2 separate regions of the Homo sapiens genome follow, and region 2 is linked to region 1. The links are contacts of gene promoters, found by promoter capture Hi-C in human tissues and cell types (Jung and others, 2019). All regions are on one chromosome and are shown on one strand. The core of a region is centred on a gene start or on the middle of the fragment in contact, and the rest is flanking DNA. Distances in the headings are between cores, read along the strand shown.

Region 1 (7,812 bases), core at 3,444-5,943:
GTGATCTGGAACTCCATGTGGCTGGCTGTCCAGGAAGCTACAGAAACCTTTATCCCTCCTGGAGACACCCAGCCCAGCCCCACATAAAATGTCTTCGTAAGAGTGCCCCCCACCCCCACCTCCCTTGTTAAATAGGGCATGAGCTAGAGAAAGGCTGTTTTGTTAATGCAGCTTACTAATTTCTTATCATTATTCTGAAATCCAAACAGCTGCGAAAACTCAAGATTTGTTAGGACTCATTTGGCTGCAAAACCTGACCATTTCAGTGACTGTTGCAGAATTGATATGTTTAATTATGGAAACTTGCCCCAGGCCCTGCTGTGGGTGTTATGTAATATATGGCACGTGGATTGTTTTAACTTTCTAAAAGGCTAAAAAGCTTGAATTCTGAAACCTGACTCCCTAGGTTTCTGGATATGAGAGTGTGGACTGGAATTATGATGGGTCTATTTTACCCTCAGGCTGTGGTTGGAAGAAGCACAATGCACACCCTTGGTATAAAGAGAATAAGAAAGGGGCAGAATGCAAACAGCAAAGGGTTTGGAAGCAGAGAGCACGAGGGGTGAATCCTTCTTCTAAATCTCACCACCTGTGGGATCTTGGGAATGCCATGCAGACTTTCTAAGCTTTGGTTTCAGTATATATAAAACAGAAATGCATAATAATAATATCTACTTCCTACCATAACTAGTGGGTTAAGCACTTAATTATTAAGCATTTATTCTGCATGCCCACATTCTTGAGCAGTCTCCCACTTCCAAGCTGCTGCCTTCTCCTCTTTCAGGCACAAGGCCAGTTTCTCAGGACCCTAGCCCTCTTAGCAGTGTCAGACATGCCTTCAGCCTCCCCTAGTGGCAACCCTCAGATGGTCCTCATAGACATTCTTTGTAACTGCTCCCTGCAGCCCTCCTGCAGCTCCAGCCACAGCCTATGAGCCTGAGGGTCTGTATTCAGCATCAGGAGTCTTATCACAGAGACTCCTACAGGAGTCTCTGATCTATTCTTCCCCTTAACAACACTTGTAGCTTTCTTTGTTCTGAGCAGCAAGAAATGAATAATTGCCAAGAGACCAGCTCATGTTGTTTTTTCCACATATGTATTTATTTCAAAATAAAGACATACAATGTTAAACAAATAATCACAACTGATACTGATTTAGAGTAGCTTACTTGATTTTTAAATTGTAGCAACTTAAAGAGAAAGCTTTTTAAATTTAATAAATAGGATAAATAATATTTCATCTTCATATCTTGCCTCTCATCCCTCTCATCTTTTCTTTCTGGAAAATTTCCAGAAGACTCTTCAGAAATGTCAGCGCGTTGCCTGCCGTGGTTTGGTTGCATGGCTGTTCACAGGAAAAATACTGTGGGGATGAAAGTTGATAAGGACAGAGTGACTCAAATGATGTAGAGCCAAGCAGCCCCAGAAGCCTACCTGCCAAGAGCCAGAGTCGGTGGTGAGGATTGTGGGGATGGGAAGGGAAGTGGCTTGAGACACAGAGCAAATAGGTGGGCAGGTCCAGGCTAGCTCATGTGGTGTAAAGACAGCATAGGTGGTTGACCTCAAATTGGATTTCAGGGGTCTTTACACACACACACACACACACACACACACACACACACACACACACACCCCTATTAAGTGGCCCTAAATCTCTGCATTAGAGAAAGCCTTTTCTGGGGACTCTTTGAGGCCTAAAATTGTATCATTATCCTTTTAGGTTGTCTTTCCAAGGTCATTTGACAGTACAATGGCTAAGAGTGGGGCTCTGAGGTCATATAGGCCTGAGTTCAAATCTCAGCTCTGCCACTTATCAAATATGCAGCCTTAGGCAAATTAGTTAACCTCACTGAGAGTAATAAATTGAATAATTGTCCCTAAGGTATGTATTTATTCAGTGAGACAGCATATATTAAGCACTTAGAACTAGATGCCATTGATGGTAGAAACGCATGCAGCTAAACAGCTGAGCTCAGGGCTTTCAGCCTTCTAGGATCTTGTGTGGAGATGCTAATACCCAAAAAACAGAGGGAGGTCACCTCTACCCAACTTGCCATCCCAGTCTGCTGTCAGGGACTAGGGTATATGCTGAAGAAAAGAATGTGTGGATGGGCATTCAGGATGAGTAGCAAGCTTCCACCTTGACCTGGGTGCATTGCCCTTTAAATACCTCCTTAATGCAGGCCAGGCATGGTGGCTCACACCTGTCATCCCAGCACTTTGGGAGGTCAAGGCGGGCAAATCACTTGAGTTCAGGAGTTGGAGAGCAACCTGGCCAACATGGTGAAACCCCATCTCTATTAAAAATACAAAAATTAGCCAGGCATGGTGGCACGCACCTGTAATGCCAGCTACTCGGGAGGCTGAGGCAGGATAATCACTTGAACCCGGGAGGCAGAGGCTGCAGTGAGCTCAGATGGCACCACTGCACTCCAGCCTGGGCAACAGAGCAAGACTCTGTCTCCAAAACAAAACAAAACCTCCTTAACCAACAGGAAAAAAAAATCCCTGTTAACAACATCCATTCAGTTAGTACATTGAATCTCTAGGATAATTTAGTATTATGTGAGCTACATCCCTGATTCTCTAGATTGTAGCTTCTAATTACACTCAGAAAGGATTCTTTCATTATTCCATAGTAGAGAGAAGTAAATGGCCTCGTCAGGAACAATGATCTATCTCACTTTAATTCTATTGTTTCAGTGGATCTCACTTTAATTATATTACTTCTGATTAAAATTCTTAGATGTCTTTTATCAACCTTGAACTACCAATTCCAACTTTATCATCCTTTTGTGTTCAAACAGGGTTGGCATCACCATTCACATAGAAATCACCAACAGGAACATATCACATATGAAAACAAACTTACTGGACACTTGTTGTTCTTTAGTACTTCAACTGATTTTTTCACCCGACTGAAAATCAGTGGGTATCTTGTTTGCATGGTGGTATTGGTCATCTGAGACAGTCTCTCACTGAAGCATGGTCTGGTGCAGTTGTCCTGGTAAATAGTAAGGATTTATTCAAAGAAATATTCTGAGGACAGCTTTGGAAATATATCACAAAGAGCAATATAATAGAGATGATTTTTATTTAATCACCATTACTCAAACTTGCATTATTTTTAGACAGGTCCCTTGCCAATGTAGGAAGTGATCTCCCGTATTTAAAGGGGATGCCATTTTTCCACAGTGACATCCCCTGGAGGAGACTTCCTGTATGTTACATCCAGGAAACATGAGGGCTCTGGGCCCTGAAATAGTCGGCTCTGAATGTTCTTTTCAACGGGTGCTTCCCGGCTTCAAGGCTTGTAAGTCTGAAAGTGCAGAGTGAGGAAAAGCCTTTTCACACCAGCTAATGGGATGTGACAATTGAATGCAGCTGGTATTTCAGCAGCAGCTAAAAACATGGACGGTACTCCAAGGGACAGGGGCTGTGCTGTCTGCCTGGTTCCTGCCCAGAAGGCACTCTATCCTCTTCTCATCTAATGGATGGACCGCGATGGGTGCGATGTCTTACCCTAGCCAGGGCAAGAAGCTCAGATTCTTCAGATTCTCCCAGGCCTTGCATGAGAAAGAATAAAGCACTGCACCTTGGAGAAGTGCCTCCTCCTCACCCTAACCAGGAGTTTGAATTAGGAATCAGAACTTTCCTGCCACCCATCCTTCCTGCCGTAGTGGGCAGTGGCCCTCTGGAAGCCCTCCTTCCACTCACAACCTCAGATCCTCTACCTGCCCAGAGGGCAGCATTCAAACCAACAGTCACTCTAATCAGCTAGACAGACAACAGGGTGGTGGGGAGGAAGGGAGGAGGCAGGGAGGGGGAGGTATAGCGCATAGATCATTCATGACAGATGAAAGATAAGGAGTTGTCATTTTATTTACATTGTTTCACAACTCTAGAGTTATCAGTAAATGAGTTAGAAAGCAATATGATATGAGCTACAGCAATTATTATATCCTTAGTTCCAGTTTTATTTAATTGTGCACATGGCCACCTATCTAAAAAGATATTCAGGATTCTTTTTTTAATGTTGAAAAGTGTTCAAACTTCTCAAGAGGCATAAAGTTAATTAAATACAAAGAAATGTTCATAATATAGGATTTCAAGATCGTAGTTTTAAAAGGGAATAATTTGTAACAATGTGGTTTTAACAGGGAATACTAATCTGTAACAATTAAATTAAGCAACAATGTATAACATTAAATATTAAATAAAGCAACTTATTTTTACTTAAAAACAAACCAAAAAAATCCAAGGTCAACATTATGTTATTTCACTATACTTACAGAGGGAATGCCCAAACAGAGACAACTGGTCACCTGCAAGGGAAATTTCAGAGTGAAGATTCCAGATGTGAAAATTAAAATTAATTTGGAAAGTTCTTAAAGAGCATTCACTCACATTAGCACTGCAGTGGCACTTGGAAGCTGGATCTTCCTAAAGTAGATAGAGAGATAAGAACCTTTAGTCAGCCCCGAGTTTTTTCATCCTCATACATATTTCACTTTGTCAGTAGCTGTCTTTCCCATGGGCTCCCCCTGCAGCCTACCTGCATCTTGTTGATGAGGAAGTTGATGTCCAGGATCCCCGCCAAGGTTGGACACCCCTGGCCTGCCACGGAGCACAGGAGCAGGGCAGAGGTAAGGACCATGGCCAGAAGCATCTTGACAGCGGACTGGAGCTCGCTTGCAGACACCTTCAAATCGAGTGGTATTTAAAGCTCCCTCTCAAACACGGAAAAACCCTGACATCAAACTGATACCAAGAGCCCACTTTTTCTCTGTAAGTTGGGGCCACTTTATACTAACAAACAAAAAAATCAAACTGAGTCACTTGACAGAGATGATGCTGTGCCAGGAAATATCATTCCTCAGAAAAGATGATTTTCAAAAAGTTGAGTACTGAAATGCTGAAGGAAAAGTTAAAGATCTAAAAACCAAGAAAAAAAATTCAAAGACAGGGATTCTGGTTGTGAGAGTTAGAATACTTTCCATGAACGCCCAGGTCTGTATTTTCCCTTTTTACATTATGGGAAATGCTGATATAATATAGCCAGTCATGGGTGTTCTAACGAAGGGGGGCCTGGGGAGACAGAGCGGGTTGGGGGAGGGTGCATGATATTGCAGAACTTCACTTATCTCTGTTGGGGTTTTCCTTTAGTAATTGCAACCTCAGTCTTACTATGCTTTATTCCCAAATCTCAATGTTTTTCATACCCAGGATGAAGTTTGCCACCTAATGCAAATGCATCTTAGAAGTATCCCTTTGTGCAAGTGTCTGAAAGAAGAAATGTTCAACTATAAGCACAAGAATGCGGCAACCATGCTTGTTAAAATTGGCCTTGAGGACTCCTCAGTATCTTTGGAGATCTTATATAACACTGTATGACATCAAGTAAAAACCCAGCACTTGAAAGAGTATAGTAGCTAACATTTACTGAGAACTTACTACATACTAGTAACATTTCTTTTTTTTTTTTTTTTTTTTTTGAGACAGAGTCTCCCTCTGTCACCAGGCTGGAGTGCGGTGGCACAATCCAGGTTCGCTGCAACCTCTGCCTCCCGGGTTCAAGCGATTCTCCTGCCTCAGCCTCCCGAGTAGCTAGAATTACAGGCACCCTCCACCACGCCCGGCTAATTTTTTGTATTTTTAGTAGAGACGAGGTTTCACTATGTTGGCCAGGCTGGTCTTGAACTCCTGACCTCGTGATCCGCCCGCCTTGGCCTCCCAAAGTTCTGGGATTACAGGCATGAGCCACTGGGCCTGACCATACTAGCAACATTTCTAAGTACTTTACATGCATTAAGCCATGTAATACACTCGGCTGCCAAATGAGGTGGGGAGTAATTTGTCATCACCATTTTTTACCCTTTAAAACACTGTCTACATCTTAGCTTCCTGGCCCTTCAGTATGGCTGTGTTTAATCACTATGAGTCAAAAAAGCAATCTCAGTGTAACTCTATGAAGTACTATAATTATTCTTATTATCTTACAGATGGAGAAACTGAGGCATAGAGAGGCAGGTAATTTGCCCAAAACCACAAAGCCAGGAAGCCGCAGAATTTGTATTCAAGCCCAGAAGTCTGCCTCCTGATTTCAGCTCTTAATCCTCCTGAACTCCTGTTTTTCTGCAGATCTTTTATCTGCCTCTCCCACCAGGATATATACTCCAGGGCTTTATGGGTCCAGTTCACCCCTATATTCTCAGCACTTAAGGAGGTGCCTGGGGAACTGTGGGCACTCACTAAATGCTTGTTGAATTAAAACACTAATTTGAAAAGTAGTTCTTGAAATACGAACTTCCTACTTCTGGGATTTATAAGATTTCAAATCTGATTTCTAGGATACATATTTGGAGGTATGTGCAGGTAAGTAAATATAGCTTCTACACAGTAGATTGAAAAGGTGAGGGGTTCTTTAGCTTAGCACTCTGAACTATAATAGCCAGTGGGGACAAACTCATAAGATTTCCTCGCCTCCACTGTAAGAGTATGGCAATACTGTTTTTTTTCATTTTGTATTGTTTCTTAGGAGTGATGATGGCTCGTCAGTGTTCCACTGCACTATGGGGAAGGGAGTGTCTTGGTGGTAAACAAGGTAAAGAGAAACAGGTGTTTTGCTAAATTCCCTTAAGCCATCCCACATCTCTGACTTCCATCCCTGCTCTTTGCAGACACTGAAGAGAAAACTCAAAGGATTCCCAGCCTGTGGCAAACACTTTTGTTACAAAGCACTGGATGTATGCCTTTTTCTTGATGGTAGAATTCTGATTAGTTTGGGGTACCAATGTATCCAGCCAAACACCCACATTTTCAGCCTCTTTTGCTGCTACATGTAGCCATGCAGCATGTTTCGATCAATGCAAAGTATGTAAAATTATTTTGCTTTCCTGGTAATAGGAGACAAAAGTGGCTGAACCCTGTCTTTCCCCTTAATTCCAATTTGGGTGTGATGGCAGGAGCTTCAGCAGCAATATTATAACTATGAAGAAATGGACAAGAGAATTACAGCAATGGCAACACTAACATTTTTCATAAATAGCAAATATTCAGAAAGGCAATAAAAAATAAAACCATGAGACTAACAAGAGAAGTAATAATAATAGTACAACAGTGATACTAAAATTCTAGCTAGCTATCACTGCCTACTGAGGATCCTGAGTTATAAAACCTGTTCTTGTTTAAAAAGAAAAGAAAAGAAAATTAGCATGCTTTGGAGAGATTTTAAAGATACATTACCATCAGACTAAACCTCCTTCCCTGACATTATTGGAAGACTTGAGAGAGATGTGAAAAGGCAATCATCTTTTCATTCTGTGAATCAATATTATCTGATGCTCTCTGTGTGAACCGTGGAAATCATTTCACCTGCCATCGGGTATGCCTTTCATATTGAGGAAAACACCACCCCACCCCTCCTGTTGTACAGATGGGGGCTTTGCCCAAGAAGAGAAAGCCACAGCTCTAGTTTCTAGCAGGGGATAGTACAGTGCAGTGGTTAAGACCGGTGACTCTAGAATCAGAATGCCTGAGTTCAAGTCCTGCCTCTATCACTTGCTAGCTCCATGGCCTTGGGGGATTGCTTGGCCTCTCCCAGCTTCCATTTCCTGACCGTAAGTGAGGATGGTGATGTGGAAAGTGGGAATGGGGATCTAGGGATGCAGTTGCAGTTGTCAGTTCTCACTCACTCGTAAGTGAGGATGGTGATGTGGAAAGTGGGAATGGGGATCTAGGGATGCAGTTGTCAGTGAAGGCTCCCCTCAGGGTACTCCCATAGAGATTAAAAGAAACAGCTGCTCCATCCCT
Region 2 (7,812 bases), core at 2,758-5,257, 370 kb after region 1:
TGGAGTAACAAACAGGTTAAAAAACAACAAAACAAAAGCAAACATAAATAATATTTTTAGGCATTGGAAATAGGCAGCACGGGACTGTGATCCCTAAGTAAAGGGAAACAAGTGAGGCAAACCATATGACCACCATGGCTTGCTTTCTGGAGGCACATTCCAGTCTGTAGTGCACGGAGAGGGATCCCAGAAGCATAGCAGCAGTCTCACTGAGTTGAAGAGACAGAATGGGGTTTTGGAAGGCTGAGGTGATTAGATGTTGTGCAGCAGAGCTCCAGAGAGAAGGGTACTATGCAAAAACAAGCAAGCAAAGAAACAAACAAACCAAAACTAAACAAACAAAAGACACCAGAAATTTAAATAGGGGTTCTTTTGAATGTTTGTTGAATACCAAGTCATGAATTCATAGAGTGAAACTCCACAAACAACTGCCAAGGAGCTAAAAGCCGAACCGTTTTCAGAGCTTACCCAGAGTGGGGAGATATTCGAGCTCTGATCATCCAGATTTGACACTCCTTGTTGATTACCCAGGGCATTCAATAGAGACCCCAGAAGTGTGTCTCTATAGTACAAAGATAAACAATCTTTATAGTAAGCCTTCTCCAGATCCACTGTGAGAAAGCTTTACATGGATCAAACTCATCACAAGTGGCATAACAGCCTGTCAGAATAATGCCAAAAACTTTGAAGGAAGACAAAATCCAGAGGCTCACAACTGTAACATGCGGAGTGCCCATCATTCAACCAAAAAATTACCAAACATTTCAAGATGCAGGAAAAGGTCATCCATAATTAGAAGCAAGATTAGTCAATAGAAATCAACCCAGGAATGACAGAAATGATGGAGTTAGGAGTCAAGACTTCAAAACAGTTATTGTAAATGTGTCCAAGGATTTAAAGGAAAACACAAAAATGATGAGGAAGGAAATGGGAGATATAAAAGAGAACCAAATAAGATTTTAAGAATTGAATAATATAATATCTGAAATGAAAAACTCACTGATTGAAATTAAAATCACAAAAACCACAGGAAAAAATATCAGCGACTGTGAAGCACAGAAAGAAGAAAGACTGATAAAAGGAAAAAGACATGTTACATTTCAGTGATATACACAAAAATATTTACAGAATAAATTTACAATAGCTGGGGTTTGTTTCAAAATAATTCAAGGTTAGAGAGAAGGGAGGTGGGGGAAGTATAGATGGAGCAAAGATTGGCCATGAATTGCTAACTGTTGAACATGAGAGATAGGTCCATGGAATTCATTATGCTCTTCTCTTGATTTTTTGCATTTCCTTAAAATTATTTGTGATAAAAAATTTGAAAACATTCTCTAGGAAAGAAAAAGTAATTAGAATTTTCCTTCTGGAAAGAGGCCAATGAGAAATAAGTCCTTCCCTCTACAACACTTCTGATTTAACAGTCTTGAATTCTGCTCTGAGGGTCAGAAGCAGGGACTAAGCTATACAAGTTGGGGTTCCTATAGCTAGAGACACATCCCTTATATTGGAATAATGCTCTGACACCCAGGAAGAGAAATATGAGGACTCAGGAGGAAGTCCTCATTCAAGAGGTTCCATTAATAGCAGCCACACCTGTTCAAGGGAAAGTATGGTTGCATTTACCAGAGTCTTCTACCTGGGGTCCAAGTGGGAAAATGGGGTAGGTGGGTGATTGGTGCTGTAAATACTTTAAATTTTATTCATAAATCCAACATGTGAGTTTTTTCTAAGTGCCTAGTGTTAAAATGCTCAATTTAGTTAAACAATGGCGTATGTACTAGGGAGAACTGGGATAGATTCTGAATTGTGAAGTTAAGACCACAGAACTCTGTAACAAACTTTAATGTCCCTTCCCAACTTTAGTGCCAGTGACTGTACTAAATGAGCCTTTGGTCACAGGGTTGCTGTTTTTTTTTTTGTTTGTTTTCTTTTTTAGACAGAGTCTTGCTCTGTCGCCCAGGCTGGAGTGCGGTGGTGCAATGTCCGCTCATCGAAACCTCTGCCTTCTGGGTTCAAGCGATACTCCTGCCTTAGCCTCCTGAGTAGCTGGGATTACAGGCGCACACCACCATGCCTGGCTAAATTTTGTATTTTTAGTAGAGGCAGGGTTTCACCATGTTGATCAGGCTGGTCTCAAATTCCTGACCTCGTGATCCACCCCCTTCGGCCTTCCAAAGTGCTGGGTTTACAGGTGTGAGCCACTGTGCCTGGCCGGGTTGCTGGTTTTATAAAGTCCCTGGAAAGCTTGGTGGGTTGTCCTTCCTATACCCTTTGGATAAAACCATTCATCTCATCTTCCTTTGCCTATTTAGAGATCGAATTTAGAGAGCATTTTTCCAATTGGTCTCAGCTTAGGCATCCATAGGATGTTCTCTAGTGGTTCTACTCTTGTAGCACTCTTGGGCTATATTATTTAATTAGCACAGGCCATATGTTAGGTTACCTTTTCAAGTATTTGTTCTACTGTGATTTTGTTGATTTGACCCGAATACATTTTGACTCATTGTTTGTGAATATAAACATAATGAAAATTATACCAATATTAAAATTTTTGTTCAGAAAGCAAAATCTAAGGTGAATACCATTAAGCCAATTGAATTATTTGATCAAGTCTTGATACTGTACTAATTTTTTGTCTTTTTTATCTTCTGTTTTTCTTGTTTTACTGAAAATATTCCCATCAAATTGACATATTTTTGATGTAAATCTTAAAATTTATTGATAAGGTTTATAAACAGAGTCACTGATTTTAGTTTTTGCAATTTTTAATTTTTTCCTACTAAGACTGATTTTTTTTTAACCAACCAGTTTTGTAGTTTTCAGTGTCGGAAAAATCTATAACACATTTTGCCACGTTCAATTTTAGTCACTGCCAGTTTTATTTTGTTCTGATTATTCCTTCTAGTAATGGTTCTCATAAATTGGGTAAAAGACAGCCTTTCTTAGTTAATCAATGAGGAAATTGGGAACAATTTCCTTGGCAGCTCCAGTGGCAGACTGTGGCAGCATGAAATACCACTACAAGAGGAATTTCATAGCCTTTTAGTACACCCACTTACACAAATAACAAGAAAATGTTACTCCCGTGAATTTTTAGATGTATATTTATTATCACAATTCTACTATGAATATGAATATTTAGTGATAACAGAAATATCTTTCAAGCTATGAAATTTTGTGCCCTTTTTTAGAATCTGAACTTGTTTTCTTAAGGCTTCCAGTAGACTATATTTAAATGATCAAAATAATATGTTTCCCCATGAAACTACTTTCAATACATGTATAATGAATGTTCAATATATGTACTTAAAAAATTTCTGTCCCCCGCCGCCCCAAACATTTCCTTTCAAAATTGGAATTTGTATACAGGTCTGTGTATCTTAAAGACAGAAGTTGACTCTGACTTTCTTGTTGGTCATCCACTCACCATTTTGTCTATCAGGAGTACACTGAAGAGGAGAGGGAGAAATTCAGAAATCAGAGTTTAATAATGTCCTACTATAATTAGCAAGGAGAGAATAAAAATAGAGTGACTTGCTTACCTAAGACCCACTTCATAATGAGCATTTCTGTCCAGGAGAACTGTGTGGTTTTCACTCTGAAGATTTGTTTTGGGTAGTCTGTGAAGGTTTCGTTTGGCAGGGTTTTAACACCTTCAAATCGGTCAGATGCATTCACAACTAATAATCCCAAGAAGATTGTAAAAGAAACTGCATGAGCTACAAACTTCATGAAAGGGCTCCTCAGGGTTCGTCCTAGCTGGAAAGAAAATGTGTTCAAGACATGTTAAACTGTCTCTAGGTGGATGTAGGTCTTTCTTTATAACATCGCTTTCACCAAAGTTTAACCAGAGAATCCTTCATCTTGGACAGAAACTGCTAACTGAACCCATACAACATTTTTTCTTGAACTATTATGTGAGATGCTGCTTGACCAAACTTATTTGGTCAATATTTTCCTATTTAGAAGACTTAGTGGGAGGGCTAAGAGAAATTGATAGAACACACCTGACATAATCATCATGCTACATCTGATTGCACTGATACCTCCAACTGCATGGATATGAAAAAATAATGTCTGCATAAAGTTCACAATTTTAAAAAATGCACTTTGAGTGCTCGGTTTTTGTTTAATCTACTCACTTGGGCTTCATTCTAAGGGTATTTGTTCTCAACCTTTCTTGTATGTTGATACATTTATTTAAAGCTATACATTTCTCACTAGGTACTGCTTTAGCTGTATTCTCCTAAATTTTCACTTGTAGCATTTTCATTGACATTCTGTTATAAATATTTTATAAATTATATTGTGATTTCATTTTTAACTCAAGGATTATTTCATTTCCAGACATAGAGGACTTTTTTTCTCCCTGCTTTAAAAAATTTGAATTTTATTGCAGCATCTTTATAGAACATAGCCTCTATGATGGTATTCTAAAATTCATTGAGGTTTTCCTTTTGGCCTAGTGCCTGAAATGTCACAAGCTGGAAATGGTCCAAAAGATGCCCTATTAGGAGCAAATACTAGTCACATCTTCTTTATCTCATGGCACCCCATCCAAAGGCCACTTGGATCTTTGGGATCGAATTGAGGGCTGCACGTTGAGTACTTGCCAACCTCCTGTTAATGAACTCAGTTGGGACTCTTCCAGCTCATTGCCCTCATCTAAGCACCAAGCCCTACCCCTCATCCAGGTACAATAATAAGGCAAGAACAAAGAGGAACATCTTTTCTGAAGCTCAGTTCCTTTTCCAAGGTAGATATTCAATTATAACCAGTGACTGATTACTTGACATTCACATTCTGCCTCATTCAGGAGTCCTAGAGTGAAATGTTACCCAGGAGATAGACTGTTGGTTCAACAGAAGATCAATTACAGGGCCTTCTCTAAGTAGAATTTTCCTAGTCACATATGTTCAGCACAACATTTATAAATCAGATGGTTTGATAATGTTCTTTTAATGTGCTTCAGTATGTTAATCATCCACTTTAATTACTGTAGTTATTAGCATAACATTATTATGATTCTGATGCTATAGAACCCATTTATTAAAATAAAGTATTAGTTTTTATCTTTTTTAAAAATCTAGGTTTTAAAAAATATCCAAGCATTAGGAGTCCCTGCTTGTGTTAGAATTCATCTGCATATTGTCATATGACACTAGGAATAACTTCAGAAATATAAAGAGATGTTTATCTGACAATAGGCCCACAAATATTTTACAATAACATTTCTGTATAATGTTTATTACTTACAAAAATAGGGACTGTAGATTATTTTTGGCAATAGACAGATGTGCTAGTTATAGAATGCAGTGGCATTCTATAGGGCACTGAAGGTGATAGAGATAGAGATAAAATGTAAGGACAAATAAAACATTTTTATATAAATTCAGTAAAAAACTGAATTAAACCATGTCTCTTTTTTATTTATATGATATTAAATAGCTAGTTTGAAGTTTTTGACATTTTAGCAAATGGTGTTAGCATCTTGGAGCCCCATTTCCCAACCAGGACCTTGGGATATTTTGGCATATCCAGGAGACAGCCTTAGGTAGTCATCACATTGTTTCTTGTCACTGTGTCCTGACTGAGCTGGTGATGAGAGGTGATGGGAGATGGAGAATGACTGCAGGGAGGAGAATAGATGAGGAGAGGGGAGACTGAAGAGAGGGCAAGGGATACCAGGTCTTGTGTATCCCAGCAAGGTTTCAAGAATGTTAGAAAAAGCTGGGGAACTCTGAGATAGACACAGCTCTTAAGGGGTCCATTTTCCCCATCCTTTATCTGTGGTCTCTACCTAATATCTTCAGTGATAATCTGGATGAGGATATGGGGTATACCTCTCCAACTTCTCACCCAGGTGAGGCACCTGATTCCTGGAATTTGTATGTAGCTGCACCCAAGCTGGCTTTGAGTTTCCCCAGAAGACCTGGTTTAAGGAATTTAATATTCGTTTTGTTACCTCCTTCAAGCTGTTATCTTCTAGAAGAAGATGAATCTGCAAAACTTATTATATTTACTATAAACCATAATAAAAAGTCCTGTTAATGCCTTTTGGTGATTTGATGGAAAGTTACCCTGGGCTCAGTTCCCACTTGATCTAGGTCACAGGGAGGAAAAGTGAGGTTGGGAATTGATATTCTTTTCCTATACTTCTGGGTTTGAATGCATCTTTTTATCTGGTAAAACTTTGATAAAGGTCAAATGAGATCCAGTCATTTCAATGGTTTCCTTTTTCTTTATTTGTAAAATTCCCTATTTGACTCACACAGATAATTTTTGAAGTAAATTACCTTTGGGGAAAATTTCCTCCATTTGCAAGGCCATCAGATGAGCCAAAAGAAAGGAGAAAAGTCAACCAATATATGCTAGCAGCTCTTAGCTGCAGAATCGTTAAAGCTGGGTCAGGTATCAGCGTTAGGTGTAAAAAGAGATGAAGATGTGGGCCTTAGCCTGCTGTGCCTGGAGTGCAGAACTGAGAAGCCCAAAAAATGTGGGCTAAAGCAGTTCAGTCATTACTAGGACCTTATGAGCTGAGAACACATCAGGAAATTAAAGCTTGTAGAACTGAAGTCTCTGGCTCACCCGAAGCTTCCTGGCCACTATTCTTTGGCTCTGAGAAATATATGAATGTCAAAGCAACTGAAGAGTGCCCCTGAATTGGCTCCAAGAAAATTGCCTTCATGGACCTTTGGGGTGGGCACCTGCGTTTACTGGTCAGCACCAACTCTGTGTTCCATGCCACTGGGCTCTTAGCCCCCACAAGTGTAAGCACCTAAGCGGTACCTGGATGTGTGAGTCCCCACATCCCAGAAATATAGCCCTGTGGCTGTGATTGTGGTAGATCACTCAGAAAAGGTTTCCAGCATCTTCCTAATCTTTTATGACAGAGTCTCCTTCGCCAAATGCCACTCTCGCTTTCCACTGGGTGCCATGGTCTTAAGCAAGGGCCTGGTTTACAAGTTAGAAACTGAGTGAAAGTAAACTTGGATTAATCATTCCCAAAAGAATCATGCACAGCTTCGGGGTTGGGTGATTCTCAAATGTTAGCGAGATCCTGGTTAAATTAGAGGCAGATCCTCAAGATGCTCCCCCTGAAACTCTTATTCAAAATGTCTAACATAGGGCTCAGGATTTTTCCCTTTTATGATGGGGTGGGATAGTGGTGGTGTTACTGGGTGCCTGTAATCAGTGTTCTTACATTACAATGTCAATCTACACATTGTAACGACTTGATATTTCTCCACACATTTCAATGTGAATCCACACTTTGTCCTGGGGGCTGAAGAGGGATTTACAAAGCAGGACTCCGATGAAAGAAAAGGAAGGGACAGAGTTTGTCATCTGGTTGTTTTGACTTCTTTCTAAAAAAGTCCTACCAACTTTTAAGATCTAAATCAAGTCCATTTCAAGGTCGGTTAGTCAGCAGCTAAGATGTTTATGTTAGGCGTTGAAGGTTGTAATGGTGCTCGTGTAACTAGAGGGATGTGTGTGTGCGCGCACACGTGGGCGGTGCATTTGCATGCAGCCATTAAGTGCAGATCTCTGGAGCCAGAGACTCTAGGTTTAAACCACAGCTTCCTATATTTTTTTAAAAACAAGTTATTTAATCCCTTAGTGTTTCAGTTTCTTCTTTTATAAAATGGGGATAAAAATAGTGCCAACTGCATAGGGTCAATGTAAGCAATGCATTATTTAATACACACAACGCAGTTAGAACAGTGCCTGGTGTATGGGAAGTACTCAATATATGGCACTGGAGGGTCTCAGGGCATTCTCCTAAGTGGAATCTTAAAATAAACTTCA

What was found. Contacts are between HindIII fragments. The study calls those that stand out against the background at their distance.
Region 2: a fragment that was not itself captured here is called in contact with the fragment with the promoter of IL9 in region 1 in 2 of the 25 tissues and cell types used here (IMR-90 fibroblasts and aorta).

What each region holds. Positions count from the first base shown.
Region 1 is chr5:135,891,148-135,898,959 of GRCh38, forward strand. It overlaps IL9 (interleukin 9), which reads right to left and starts at 4,694. Exons shown (of 5, transcript NM_000590.2): 1 at 4,556-4,694; 2 at 4,408-4,443; 3 at 4,293-4,325; 4 at 2,873-3,004; 5 at 1,099-1,363. The coding sequence starts at 4,669. The coding sequence ends at 1,244. LOC124901074 (a long non-coding RNA gene) reads left to right here. Exons shown (of 3, transcript XR_007058947.1): 2 at 1,295-1,456; 3 at 4,551-5,001. The HindIII fragment of the contact is 9,945 bases long and covers 1,669-7,812 here.
Region 2 is chr5:136,262,675-136,270,486 of GRCh38, forward strand. It overlaps TRPC7 (transient receptor potential cation channel subfamily C member 7), which reads right to left. Exons shown (of 12, transcript NM_020389.3): 5 at 3,546-3,762. All of the region lies in intron 1 of TRPC7-AS2 (TRPC7 antisense RNA 2), which reads left to right. Among named protein-coding and RNA genes, the nearest start is that of TRPC7-AS2, 40 kb to the left of the region's middle. The HindIII fragment of the contact is 5,146 bases long and covers 1,435-6,580 here.